Linked DNA regions of Homo sapiens: region 2 is linked to region 1. The links are contacts of gene promoters, found by promoter capture Hi-C in blood cells and fetal thymus (Javierre and others, 2016). All regions are on one chromosome and are shown on one strand. The core of a region is centred on a gene start or on the middle of the fragment in contact, and the rest is flanking DNA. Distances in the headings are between cores, read along the strand shown. Region 1 holds the start of CAPSL (calcyphosine like). Region 2 overlaps SPEF2 (sperm flagellar 2).

Region 1 (7,107 bases), core at 3,456-5,955:
AAGCAAAATCATAGGGGTGGAATTGCCTGAGGCCTTGAGGGCTCAATCCTAGCCCAGTGTGTCCAGGAGGTGGCACATGGAGTCAAAAGAGATTATTCTCTAGCTTTAAAATTTAATGTCTGCCTGCTGAGTTTTGGTCTTACTTGGAGCCTGTTACTTTTGTTGGGAAAGGGAGCATGGAAGGGTGCTCTTTCTCACTTTTGGAATAGGAATGTCTGTCTTATGCCGTATCACCATTGTATCTTAGAAGTTGTTACCTTATTTTGATTTTACAGGTTCACAGATGAGACTCTGGATTTTGGACTACTGAGTTGATGCTGAAACCAGTTAAGACTTTGGAATTAGAGGGTTGGAATGAATGTATTTGTATGTGATAAGGACATGAGTTTTTGGAGGGCAGGGACAGAATGTTGTGGCTTGACTGTGATTTTCTTTTATCCGACCATCCCTGGATTTAGGTCTAGTAATCATCGGCTGATTGCCATATTGTTTTTATCAATGATCTAGTATAAAACAGGTTGATCCAACCAAATTCAGATTCCTTTAAAAAGATGGTTTTTAAAGACAATGTTTGAGATTTTTTTCGGACCTAAGAAGGGCCCCTCCCAGCTGTCTCTTTTCCCAGTTTCCTCTGGCAAGTTAGTCACCCTACAGTTTCACTTGTATCTCCAATGAATCTACCCATCGCCTACCAACTGCCTTTCACAGCTAAGTCCACCGTTTCTTTGTTTTTTTCTGTTTGAGTTCTCTTAGGCTGGAACCACTCCATAGTTTTTGTTGAAGATAGAGCCAATTCCTTTGCAAAGTCTATCAGTCAGGGTTCCTCATTAAAACAGAGCAGTAAGGTACCTTTTTTTTTCAAGGAATTGGCATAAATGATTTTGGAATTTTAAGAGTTGGCAATCTGAAATCTGTAGAGCAGGCCAGCAGGCTGGAAACTCTTGGGTGGGAACTGATATTCCAGTCCTGAGGCAGAATATCTTCAAAGAAACTTATTGCAGATATTAATCACGTCTAAAAAATAACATAAGAGCAACACATAGATTAGGTTTTGATTTAATAACTAGGTACAATGGCATATGTCAAAAAACACAGTTTTATACAACTCTTCTATAGCATACTGGGAATATACTAACTCTTCCCCAGAGTGGAGGTCCTTGGGTGATGTTCACTCTTATTCTTGATATTCTGTAACATAAATACTGTGAAGTAATATATTAGATTTTAAGGAGATAAAGTGAGAAGAATACGATAGTATTCTACACACACAAATTCATAACAAAATACAAGGTAAATACTCAAAACATTTACAATCCTTTTGCAACTGATCATATGGTGATAGCTAGCATTTGTATTTCATATACCTTTGCCCTCAGCAAGTACCGCAATTGACTTTTTGCCTGATTGGGAAGGGGACCCAAATATTCATTCTTGAAGAGTTGGGGTTATTAGTTTTCCTTACTGAATTGGGTTATTGTAGATTTTTTGTTGACTTTAATAAAAGGGCATGGGCATAATTAGTGATGTGTTAACAGAGTTCCTTTATTCCAGGCTTACTCTTCTTTTTAATGACCTATAACAGTAAACCAACGAAATGATTGCAGCTGTGACAAGTGCTACAAAGAAGATGAAAACATAGTATTCGCTACTCTTTTTCCAACTTTTATTTTATGTTCTGGGGTATATGTGCAGGTTTGTTACACAGGTAAATGTGTGCCATGGTGGTTTGCTGCACAGATCCTCCCATCACCTAGGTATTGAGCCCAGCATCCATTAGCTATTCTTCCTGATCCTCTCCCTCCTCTCCCCACACCCTGTGACAGGCCCCAGTGTGTGTTGTTCCCCTCCGAGTGTTCATGTGTTCTTATTATTCAGCTCCTATTTATAAGTGAGAACATGTAGTATTTGGTTTTCTGTTCCTGCATTAGTTTGCTGAGGATGGCTTCCAGCTCCATCCGTGTCCCTGCAAATCACATGATTTTGTTCCTTTTAAGGCTTACTCTTTACATCAATGTGTAGTAGCAACTCAATTTCCCTTAGTAATCAGGTCTTGCGTGATAAATCCAGTCCAACATTTCAGTCTCCCTAAGCCTTTAGATACCTTCCTCTTCAGTGTCCCAAGGTAATTCTGGTATTTCAGCTTCATTTAGCGTAGGCCACCCTTTGTTTCATCCTTAACTCAACCAAACCCATCGAGCTGCAACTCTATATTGAGAATTTGTGCTTTGTGGGCCTGTATCAATAAATTCACCTTGAGTCAACTTTATGTTCCTTCTACCATTATTTCACACTATTAACTTACATTCTCACATGTATTCACCAGATTTCTGTCTGTATAAATTGAAAAAATACGCATTACTTTTGGAATGTAGTATGTCTCCCATTGGTTCGCAATTTTAATCTCTCTTTCAAGCCTGTTGGGACTAGAGTCTTATTTATAGATATAGATATAGATAGATATAGATATAGATAGATATAGATATAGATATAGATATAGATGATATAGTTCTACAAGCCAAGAGGTTTGGTGGAAGTAGGTTCTGAGGATAATCAGCAGTGTCTTCCAGTTAAAATACCTCAGAGGTGCTAGTACACTTTCCTTTGAAAAATCAGGATGAACCTTCTCAGACATGAATAGCAGGGTTGCTCCTACTGGCAAAGAAGATGCAGGAGAATTTAGAGGTTAAGTGTCCTCAGCTTCATCAGGATCTACCCTACAGGTTTCATTCCGATTTTCAGAATCTCATTCCTTCCTAATCAATTCCCTCAGTTTAGCAGAAGATACTTTGCCTGGTTGGGAATTCAATTTGCACTGTAATTCTGCCACTCTCAGGATGAGACTCCAGATTTGATTTTCTGAAACCTCAGGCTGATGACAATGGGAGATAAGTACGTTCCTCCAGGAAGACATAGAAGGTTTCAGATCATTTATGTGGAGCTTGAACTTGGAATTTCAAGCCCTGAGTTCATCATTTTTCTTTACTTTGTCTACCACAGTTACAAGCAGTCATCCTCATTACATTTATTAGTTTGACTAAAATATTTTAAGCTATCATGATTACCTAGAGATTTGCCATTTATGAATATTTGATTAGGAATCCAGTAGTAATATTTTACAAATCTTTTTACCGTATTACACCATAGACTATCATTGTCTTCTTTACCACTGGAAAGAGTACTTATGCCTTAAAATATAATCAATATTTTATATTGATTGTCAGAAACCCAATACCACAAACCCAGATCCAGTTTTTTGAACTGGTAAAACCCTTGGAATTACACCAGTTGCTAGCAGTGGAAACAAGCAAAAGCATTGCTTAAGTACTCCAGAGATTTTGTTCTTTTTACTTTATTTGACACAACCTGGAGGCAGACTATTGAGGGCTTGCACGGTGGCTCCATCATGCTGTCCGTTGTCCCAATTTTCCTGTTTCTTTTTTATCTTTTCTTAAATTATTGCACCAAACTTACTCTCCAGTAGGTGGCTTTCAAGAAATACTTCATATTTAAATGCCCATGCCCTCATATTTGCTTCTGCATTCACAGATGAAATTAAGTTTCTTCTTAAAAGTTTCAAATGCGTGATATCTTGTGGGTTAAACCACTGAAAAGAAAACATTAGACATCTGAGGTTGCCCTGGAAGAACCACAGTTCTAATTGCTTAATTCTGGGACAATTCTTCAGACAATTCAGATAAAAGGATGAAATAGCTACTATGTATACTCCCTGCAGATATAGCAAAGGACCCAAGCCCTTGTCAAATCCATGAAAGAACTTGCCTAGTAGTCTGCAGAGCTGGGTGCCTGGCATCTATTCCGTTTTGTGAGTTCTTATACTGCAAGGATGTTGCACACAGCCAGGATTATGTTATATACAGAGATGTGTGTGTGTGTGTGTGTGTGTGTGTGTGTGTGTGTGTGTGTGTGTGTCAGAGAGAGAGAGAGAAAGAGAGAGGTGTAAGGTCTGAATCACCACTAATTATACCTGCCTGCTCCTGAAAGCAGGACGTGCAGGAGTGGGAATGACAAGGATAGGGTGGATGTCATAGATACACAATGAAAGAGAGCATAGTGTAGATATTTTCCTCCAAATAAGCCACTAGATTTCTTCTTATCTGGCAAAGTAACTGCTAGGGAACATGTGAAAAACATAAGTAAAAAGAAACAAAAAGAGAAAAGAAGAGAAGAAACCAAGGATGAAAACAGCAGAAATGACATCCTCTGCAAATGCAGAGAAGGAGGGAGAACCTTGAATCACCTATAATTACCCCTGCCTGCTCCCAAGAGTTGTGGTTTTAAGTATCACCTGGCAATGAGGCACCCTAGCAGTAAGCTTTCTGGGGACTACAGAAGGACAGGAAGGTGCTGCCTAAAAGAAAGAAGACAATGTGCTGAATACTACCTTACAAAACATGGGAGACAAGTTTTGATGCTGTTCTAGAAACCAAACCATTGCCAGCAAAACTTCTGGCTGGCTTCTCTCCCAGTGCAAATGGCTTGAGCTTTCACAGTCACTGAGATTTCCTAGGCAACAGGAGTGTAAACTTGAGAAAAGGCAGAACCAGAGTAGAGATTGACAGTGAGCTGAGCCAATCAGGCTGTGAATCTGCAGCAGTGATCCCAGGTCCTCCAATTAATACTAAGAGAGTGGACCAGGGCCCCTGAGGAAGACAGGTAAGAGGGAGGAGGCTAAGGTGGCTTGGGAGGGACCAGTTTTCCTAGATGCAGGAGACAGCGTCCATAGTTTCAGTTCGAAGCAACTGGTGGCAAAAGGTTAGCATTTAAGGTAAATCAATGTTTTTATCTATTCTATGATTTAATGTTTTTTTTTTTCTTGGTATGTCTTAGCTGAGAAAAGAAGACAGTAGATGTTACTCTCTAAAAAGAAAATCTAAAAGTCTTTTGAGAGTTCTTGGACTAGAGAAGCCATCACTAGGCTGTCAGTGCAAGAGGAAAGAGCTTGGTACTGGGAAAGATTTTTGTAATCTTTGCAAAAAAAATGCTTAGATAAAAATGCACAAAAATAAATTTCATTCAGTAAAGGGGAAGGAAGTAAACATTACTGAGCAGTCATTAGGTACTAGGTATTTGAGTGTGAAGGGTTTGGGTGAATTGCTCTAACGATCCTGATGACCACTGATAAAACTGAGCTTCAGGGAGGTTCAGCATTTCCAAGTCACAAAGCAATAAAACATTTCAACTTTCATTCAGACCTTGCTTTGTCTGATACTTAAACTTATGCTATTTCTGCTATACACTGACAACTGAGAATCAGAATAAAAATCAGGATGCTTATTAAAGTGTACATACATGGCTTGTTCAAAATTATATCAAATAGTTGATTTGATTCATCAGAGACTTGAGGGGGTCCTTTACGTTCTCATTAAAGGACAACACCAATGACCCAGGCAGCCATCTCTATTGCCTTCAGTCTGGGGAGTATTTAAACCATATTAAGTAGATGAAATTCTTACCTGTTTTTTTTTTTTGACTTATTTTTTCCTCAAATCCTACAACCACAAAAATCTATTTTGTTATTGAAAGTTTTAAATATTGAGATTTGAATTTCAGGCATACATTTGTATTTATATTCTGATAAAAATTACCCAATAGCAATGACAATGATAAATTCTAATAGCAATAAAATAGCCTCCTGCTAAGCCCTGATGATATGGTGATAGTAAATGCAAAGGATACAGCTCTACCTCGTAAGGACCTTATAGTCTGTCTAGCAGGGCAAGTAATTCGAAAACGAATTACATTGTCTTGCAATGTGAATGCTATTTGGACTTCACCACATGATCATGGAAGGATGGGTGGGACTTCTCTGGGCCAACAGGAAAAAGAAGGTGTACCTGCAAGTGTGACTACATGTACAAAGGCACAGAGATACAGAATGCTATGGTGTGTTTGGGGAATGTGAGTGAGTAGAGATGCAGGATAGATTTTGAACGGATGGAGAATTACTAGAAATGGCTGGAGACATAGGAAAGGCCAATGCATGAATTCAATGCTAAGAACTTTCATTTTACCTGTATGCAATGGGGGACCATCAAAGGGTCTTAAACTATATCATGAAGTTCATGTTTTCATTTTCTAAAGATTGCTCAGTCTTTTGAAAGACAAAGTACAGAGGGCAAAGCTAGGGGCAGGAAACCAACTAGGAGACATTTGCAATGGTGGAAATGAGAAGTGACCATGTCCTAGGCTGAGTCAGTATCCATGGCAATGGAGATGAGGGAATGGAAATGCGGGATGTGTCAAGGTAGTGAAACTCTATAGGACTTAGCTGCTATTTGGATGTAAAGGGTTAGGAAGAGTCTAGGATAATGGTCAGTTAATGACCCAGGTAAATGGTATTGCTGTTTCCTGAAGCAAAGAGTAAGGAAGATAGGTAATGAATTTGGCTCTGGAACATTAAACTGAAAGTGTCTGTAGGTCATCCAAGTGCACATGTTTTGTGAGAAATCTGGCTCCAGAGAGTGCCTACATTGGAATAAAGATTTGTTAGTCATCATTGTATCAGGGGATATGACTGAGATTGCCATAAGATAGTGGAATAGTGAGAAGAGAAAGATAACTGAAGCCTGAGAAACAGCACTTAAGAAGCAGGTGAAGACAAGGAAGAAACAAAATAGGACAGATCCAAGAGGGAGGAGGAGAGACAGGGAGTTAGATTTATAGCCATTGAGAGAAAGGGTGTTAAAAAGGAAGAATGACCAATAGTCAACTAGTTGGAGAAGTGAACTAAGGGCTAATGACTGTTGAAGTTGGCAATCAGGTTAGCAATGACTTATTGAAGAGTATATTTGTTGGAATGACAGGGTGAAGACCATATTGAAATGGACCGAAGTATGAATGGGGCATGAGAAAGTAGAAAATCTGGAAATTCTTTAAAATAGTTTGACTTTGAGGGGTGATAGCTAGAGGGAGTCCAGGACTGAGGGACCACAGCGGATTCATGAACTAAAAGAAGGAGCTGCTGGAGAGGAGGAAAAGGGCATAACTGATGGCTGAGAATCTTAGAGGGGTAGGCCTCTGTGTTGCAGGTAGAGAGGGCATCCTTAGATGGGAGGAAGTTCAGCAATCTCTTGGAGGAGGGAGGAG
Region 2 (7,107 bases), core at 1,352-3,851, 300 kb after region 1:
GCCAGTAACATACATAAAGGATATATATGCCTAATGAGGCTTCTTTGAGAATTCAATATCATTGTCATTTCTCTTTATCAAATTTTACACTGTGACATGCTTATTATGCTTTTTTATGTACCTACCTCTTGAAAAGTATCACTTTTCATGTTTTGAAGTCTTAAATTTGTCAGACGTTGCATGGTTTGCATCTCCACTCCAGTCAGTCCACTTTTCTTCTTTTTCTGAAGAGCAATGTACAATTGATATAACAGCTTTGTTGCCACCCCAGGCTTTTCTGTGATGATGCCATGGGCCACATTCTGATCAAACTGCACACCCAGAAGGTTAAGTGTTGGCTCCAAGCGAGAAAAATTATTAAGTTTGGCACTTGAAACCCTGGACAGTAAAATATTTTACATAATTAGACATTAGCATTAAATTAAAGACAAACAACAAATATCAGACATATTATCATTATCCAATATTTTGAATTATTTCATGTCCTTTTAGCTGTATCATTCCTCTCTAAAACCACTCTAATGTAACTACATTGAGATTTTTTTATTGACCATGTCTACCTGAACTCTATGCATTCATTTCTTTTAAATGGCTACACTAAAATTTTTCTGCTCTAAATTGACAATAGGATTTCTTCAGAAGTAAATACAGAAGTCACAACACCTAAACTTGATATACTGTTCCTAGTATACTATTTCTCAAGAGATTGCATTCAGGTAGTGGCTCTAAATCTTTTGTTTTTGAATCACAGATACCTTTGAAAATCTGACAGCTATGGAACTTTTTTACAGAAAAGGAAACATACATTTATACATACAGACAAAGCGTGTATAACATCATATAGCATGTTTTTGAGCCTCTTACAGTCTAACCTAAAAGCACCCATCTTCCAAAAAGATGTGGCGCTCAGGAAATATAAGAGTGATTTCTAAATATAAATGAGGAGCCAGCACCATGAGATGGCCAATGTCAACAAAAATAGTGATGCAATATCTTGAATTCATGTTCTGATCATGTGGTGTAACTTACTGTCCTGTTTCCTCTGTGTACTAGTAACTCTTTTAACATAAATATTTAGCAAGATATATTTAGTGTATTATGCGGCATCAATCAAACTTCAAATAAAATATTTTAAATTAATAAAAGAGAAAAAGGCCTTGGAGGAGACGAGAAGAGATAATGCATGCTACAAGAAAACCTTCTCAGCATGAGACTAAATATACTTTTTTAAAGGTCTTCTCAGGTCCAGTTTTGCAATCTGTTTCTCCACAAATCATCGTACAGTTGGAGATACAACATTTGTCTAAAATGACTCAGGTAAAGCAGACCATGTTTTGAGGAATATGATTGTGAAAGAAGATAGTCAAATCAATGACATGTGCTTCCATTCTCTAGAAAGGCATCTATCACCCCTTTTGATCTTCCATCACAGTCGTCCTTTCATGCCCTTCCCATTTTAGGAGTCCTGTGTGCTTTGCTCACTACACATAATTGGAAAGATGTGAACTGAGAGCCATCTGTCAGAGCTTTGGTCTGGGTTATAACCTTGGGCTACAGATTTTAGGGGCATGTTAATTCAGGAGGGAGAGTCCAAAAGCAAACATTACCCATTTCCAAATTTTGTCAAAGCTTAGCCCTGCACTCAAGAAAAAGAGAGAAGAGTTTTCTCTTTCTCTCAATTGTATCATGTGGCTCCCAGAATGCAGTTAATAAGCCTGTTAATGTTATACTTCAGTTACCTACTAGGGTTTAAATGTATTTTATGAACTGGCCAAAGTACACAGGTCTAACAATACTTCTCTTTGGAAGCTTATTTCTAATCAATCAAATTTGGGGAACAGAACTTGTGTGTAAATTGGTGGAAGCCTACTCTTGTTAAAGCATGGGTAGAATCAGAATGATAGGATAATCAACAGTTGTTTTTTGAACACAGAAAAACCACTGGGACATCTTTGCTCTGGAGACAGAGCATATGAGGTAAATGATGACCTCTGAGGGACCTCTCTACCAGCAGTCCTTGCTTGCTAAGAGACTACCTATCTCCTTCCCTTCTTGCCATCTGGTGAGGGAATACCTCTTCTTACAGGTAAGTAGTAGCTGCCCTCCGAGAAATTGTCTTGACTATTTACTTTAAAAAAAAAAAACAAATCTTCTCAATTTTCACTATTTGTGAAGGAATAAAAATATTCAAAATCAGGGAATTCTTTCAGAGTTAGATGAGTATTCTTAGAATTAAATTATTTCCAAGATGAATAACTTTAAGTTATTTACAAAATATATTTCCAGTTTACATTTTAAACTAAAGAAACTAAAAGTGTTAGATAAGATCCCCAAATCATGAGCCCTGGCACCAGTTGCCTAAAAATTAGGCTATGACAAAAAAGGGATTATTTTCCCTACCAAATATACCATTACAAAGGTTATGCCCATAAAATTTACTGATCCTTGTCTTATTTAAAAGACCATGTGCCCTGGGGAAAAAATGGGCTGTTCCAAGAATTGAAGATGGATGATATTTGGTTCTCAATACAAGTAGGACCCTCTTCCCACATTAGGGAATGCAATGACTCGTGGTGAGAGAGAAAGTTAGTCCTTTGTAGTATATGACAAGCAGGGCTGTTACAAAGGACACACATCTATCCAAAGGTGGAACAAGAGTATGAAATCTACCCTCTGTTCAGATTGTTAAGCCTTGTCCCTGGCATGAGACTGCTTCATCCAAAATGGGGCTCCTTTTTCCTTGTAAAAAGGCCTTTGTGTTCACGAAGGCCTGCATTTTTACAGTCATTTCCAGCCAGATGGGGACCCTTTTTCCATTTCACAAAAGGCCCTCTGTGGTCCTGCCAATAAGAGCCACTTTGGTACACCTGAAACACTCATCTGCGATCTGGTCAGGATGGTCCTTTAACTTTTCCATGGTTAAGCAGATATACTCCCTGATATCCCTCATTTATTCATTGGAAACAATATTATGAGCCTACTATGGACCAGGACAATGCTTGGAGCACAAAGAATAAACACACGCTGCAACTTTCAGGATCTTCACAATCTAGTTGAGGAGTAAACATTCATTTATCATTCATTAAACGTTGTTTGGGCTCCTTCATGTGGCAGGCACTCTGATAAGAACTGATACATAAATAAATAATTATAACTTGATAATGATAATGTAATAAGGAAAGGGATGTCCAAAGTTTTATTAGAACAAAGAGAAAAGGGAGACTAAATCTACTAAGAAAGTAAAAGAAGAGTTTAGAGAAGGAGTAGATTTTTAGCTGGCATTTCAGAATAAATACAAGTTTCTCATGGTAGAAGTGAAAAAATAACATTAATTTGCAAAGGTGCAAGGCATAACAAAAACATACGATGTGTATGTGGACCACAGAAGCTTTGGTTAGGATTCTCCGTTGATGGGAAATGTGGCTGGAAAGGTAAATGAGGGTCACACCGAGAAGCACCTTATAAGCCATGACCTTGAGAGCAACAGAGAGACTGGAACACTTGAATTTCTTAAGCTGATGGGGATATCATACCTAGAGATATGAGTGTAGAGTTTTAGCTTCATGTTGGGAAGTCTAAACAAGGTCTTTATCTGTAGAATTTACTAGGAAATGTAGACATTCATTAATTTAAAAAACATTGACTGAAAGCTAAATATGCACCAGGCCTATGTTAAGCCCTAGAGATATAAAGAAAAATAACCTAATACCCCTAACCTCATGGTGTTCTGTGCAATGTGAAACACAGATAAAGAAACTGACAACAAAGTGATCAGTGTTATAAAAATTAAATGTGTAGGCTGAGTTTCTCACTTTCATAAAGGGATAGACAGCAACAACAACAAAAGGATTGGACATCTGGTTACGTGCAAGTCATAACACATCAATCTATATGTATAAGAACTCCTGAGAAATCACAAAAAAGAAAATGAGGGCATGGACACTGACCTACCTACCCTGGCATTCTTATACCTTGGAGGGTAATCCAGCTTCTAATGGTGGCAGCAAGGCTAGGTACAGAGGGAGCGAAGGGCTGAGAGGTCAGGAAGAGGGGGCAGCTGGGGCTAACAACGAATTTATATGCCATGTACTTGAGGAAGAGATGTGTGATATGAGATGTAGGTATGGGTTAGGATGTTACCCTGTACACCAGAAGCTCAAGAAATTAGATGGGATTAGCAAAAAAGGGTTTATTTGGTATGACAGTGTAGTTCTAATCCATGGCTTCTTTTGTGTCATACAGTTGCTATATGTACAACTAGGATAATCTGGATTATGAAAGAATAATTCACCTCTAGCATGGAAATATCAGAGGTTCTTTTGCTCAGAAGTCTTATAACACAGGTGCAGCTTCATAAAGGCCTATCATTTCAGACAAACAAAAATAAGAAGTACTTAAGCAGGAAGTATCAGGTTAAAATATTATGAATTTGAAGTACATCTTCGTAAATGGCAGAGTGAGAACCTCCAAAAATCGGTTCCTCCTTAAAGGCAACAATAACACTCATAAAAATTGTAAAAATCAACCTTTTCATAACTCTGGAAATTAGCTAAAGGCTTGTAACAACTCAAGGAGCATTTATTTAAGAAAAGCTGCTTAATAGTGGTAGGAAAAGAGAGCTTTTTGTCATTTTAGTTTGCTCCATGTCCATACCTCACTCCCTAGCTCCATGGTGGCTATGAAAACCGGCAGCAGACTTACAACCATGGCAGCTATAAAAACCAGCAGTTTAGCAGTCATCAAAGCAGACAAACAGATTTGAAGCGCCTCCAAAGTCCTGTCTTCAGAGTGTTGCTTTTCTTTTCTTTTCTTTTTTCTTTTTTTTTTTTTTTTGAGACAGAGTCTCACTCTGTCACCCAGGCTGGAGTGCAACGGCGCAATCTTAGCTCATTGCAACCTCCATCTCCCAGGTTCAAGCGATTCTCCTGCCTCAGCCTCCTGAGTAGCTGGGAATACAGGTGCCCACCACCATACCCAGCTAATTTTTTGTATTTTTAGCAGAGATGGGGTTTCACCATGTTGGCCAGGCTCATCTCAAACTCTTGACCTCAGGTGATCCACCCACCTTGGCCTCCCAAAGTGTTGGGATTACAGGCATTAGCCACCACACCCGGCCCAGAGTATTACTATTTGACTACCCAGTAGTGTTGTGAAAATCCCCATTTTCAGGCCTTGTCATTATTTGACCTGATAGAGCTTACTCACTGAAAAAAGTCCTATCCCAAGGGTGTTAGGAAAAAACAATCATAGCAATTATTTATAATCACAGTTACCTGAGACAGTAAAACCAGCTGGAGCAAAGAAGAGCCTGGCCAAAAACTTAAAAGGAAGACCTAGGAATGAGATGTCTGTTAGGGACTCTGAGGCCATATGCATGTGTAGGAATGTATGGATGCCTAGGAAAGACATGAGGAGGTCCAAATCTCTCACCTTTGGCTGACTTTGAGATGTTGCACAAGCAGGAAGTAAAGGCTAAGGGAAAATTGTAAACTGCCAGAGCATTGAAAACATCCCATAATCCACTCATAGAGTTTCTTAGCAAAGGAAAATGTATTGGTCCAAAGTGTTGAAAGATATCTCTATTCAATTGCTGACCACTAAGCTAATCAACTAGAGACTTCAGTTGCAGTATACAAGAGGGAACATAGACTTTACAGAATTAGTCCAGGAGAGCTACTAAACAAACAAACAAACAAAAAAAGCAGAAGCAGCAGCAACAACAACAAACCCTGGGAATATGTAATAATCTGAATTGACACATTATATTATTTTAAATGTCCAGTTTTCAAAAATTATGAGACACCCAAAGAAACAAGAAAGTATGACCTATACACAAGGAAAAAAAAGTGAATAGAAACTCCGTGGGGAAGTCTTGGACAAAGACCTTCAATGGCCTATTATAAATATGTTAAAGAAAGGAAAAGAAACTATGTTTATAAACCCTATTCCTGTTTAGAAAAAAAAAGTGCAGCACACTGCCAGTGCTTATTTAATTTTACATAAACACTCTATGAGGCTGAAGCAAATCTGACGAATTTTCAATGTGAAAATAAAATATAAAGACTGTTCTTGGAGTTATTTCTAAACAGAGCAAACACCAGAATCATCTGAATCATCAGAATCATGTATTTTGGAAAAATTGGATTCGCCAAATAAATCTTTGGCCAACAACTGTTGGAAAACAGTGTTAACATTATACATAGGAATGCTATGTTTTCTAGGATTTGACGTTTTTGGTGATTGAGAATTACTACATTTTGTAAATGGAAATATCACTGCTAAAAACTGAATCCTGTAAATAGAATGATGTCTTTTGTTTCCAAAGTCAATATACTAGAGCAATGCAAAAACAATAATAAAAGCAAGATATTTCATGGTAAAGTTATCTCAGGGTAAATGCTATAGCTGCAAGCACTACCAGCTAGTGTTCTCAGGGTAAATGGGAAAATGGTTAAAGTTAAAATAAAGTATGAGAATACCATTTCAACAATAAGAGAGTATCAATACAGAAATAGAAGTTATAAAAATAGGAACACAGTGAAATTCTGAAGTTGAAAAGTACAACTGAAATAAAAACATTCACAATAAGAGTTCAACAGCAAACTAGAGTTGGCAGAGGAAAGAATCTCAGATCTGAGAACCCAAAGACAGGTCAACTAAACCTATTCAGAGGAGGAAAAAAAAAGCATGAAGAAAAATGACCAGAACCTCAAAACACATACATCCACTCTAATCATGAGAAAAACATCAGAGAAATTCCACCTGAGGGAAAATCACTTCGCTAGTATTCTTCAAAACTGTCAAGATCATCGAAAATAAGAAAAGTCTGTGTGAGAAACTATCACATTCAAGAAGAGCCTAAGGAGATACAATATGATATGCTTGATGGGATCCCGGAACAAGAAAGACATTAAGTAAAAAATAAAAAAAAACCTAAATGGCATATAGATTTTATTTGATAATAATATACAAATATTGGCTCATTAATTGTAACAAATGTACCACACCAATGTAAGATGCTAGCAATAGGTACGAATAGATATGTACAATATAGGAAATCTCTGTATTATGTCAATGATTTTTCTGTAAATCTAAAACTGTTCTATA

The links. Contacts are between HindIII fragments. The CHiCAGO score rates a contact against its expected background, and 5 or more counts as called.
Region 2: a contact is called between a fragment that was not itself captured here and the fragment with the promoter of CAPSL in region 1, in 11 of 17 cell types (naive CD4 T cells, activated CD4 T cells, total CD8 T cells and 8 more). The highest score is 15.8, in naive CD4 T cells.

Annotation. Positions count from the first base shown.
Region 1 is chr5:35,936,220-35,943,326 of GRCh38, reverse strand. CAPSL (calcyphosine like) reads left to right here and starts at 4,705. Exons shown (of 5, transcript NM_001042625.2): 1 at 4,705-4,786. It overlaps CAPSL-DT (CAPSL divergent transcript), which reads right to left and starts at 4,526. Exons shown (of 2, transcript NR_104630.1): 1 at 4,403-4,526; 2 at 3,334-3,604. The HindIII fragment of the contact is 5,426 bases long and covers 4,336-7,107 here.
Region 2 is chr5:35,634,702-35,641,808 of GRCh38, reverse strand. It overlaps SPEF2 (sperm flagellar 2), which reads right to left. Exons shown (of 37, transcript NM_024867.4): 3 at 126-378. Among named protein-coding and RNA genes, the nearest start is that of SPEF2, 20 kb to the right of the region's middle. The HindIII fragment of the contact is 1,579 bases long and covers 1,812-3,390 here.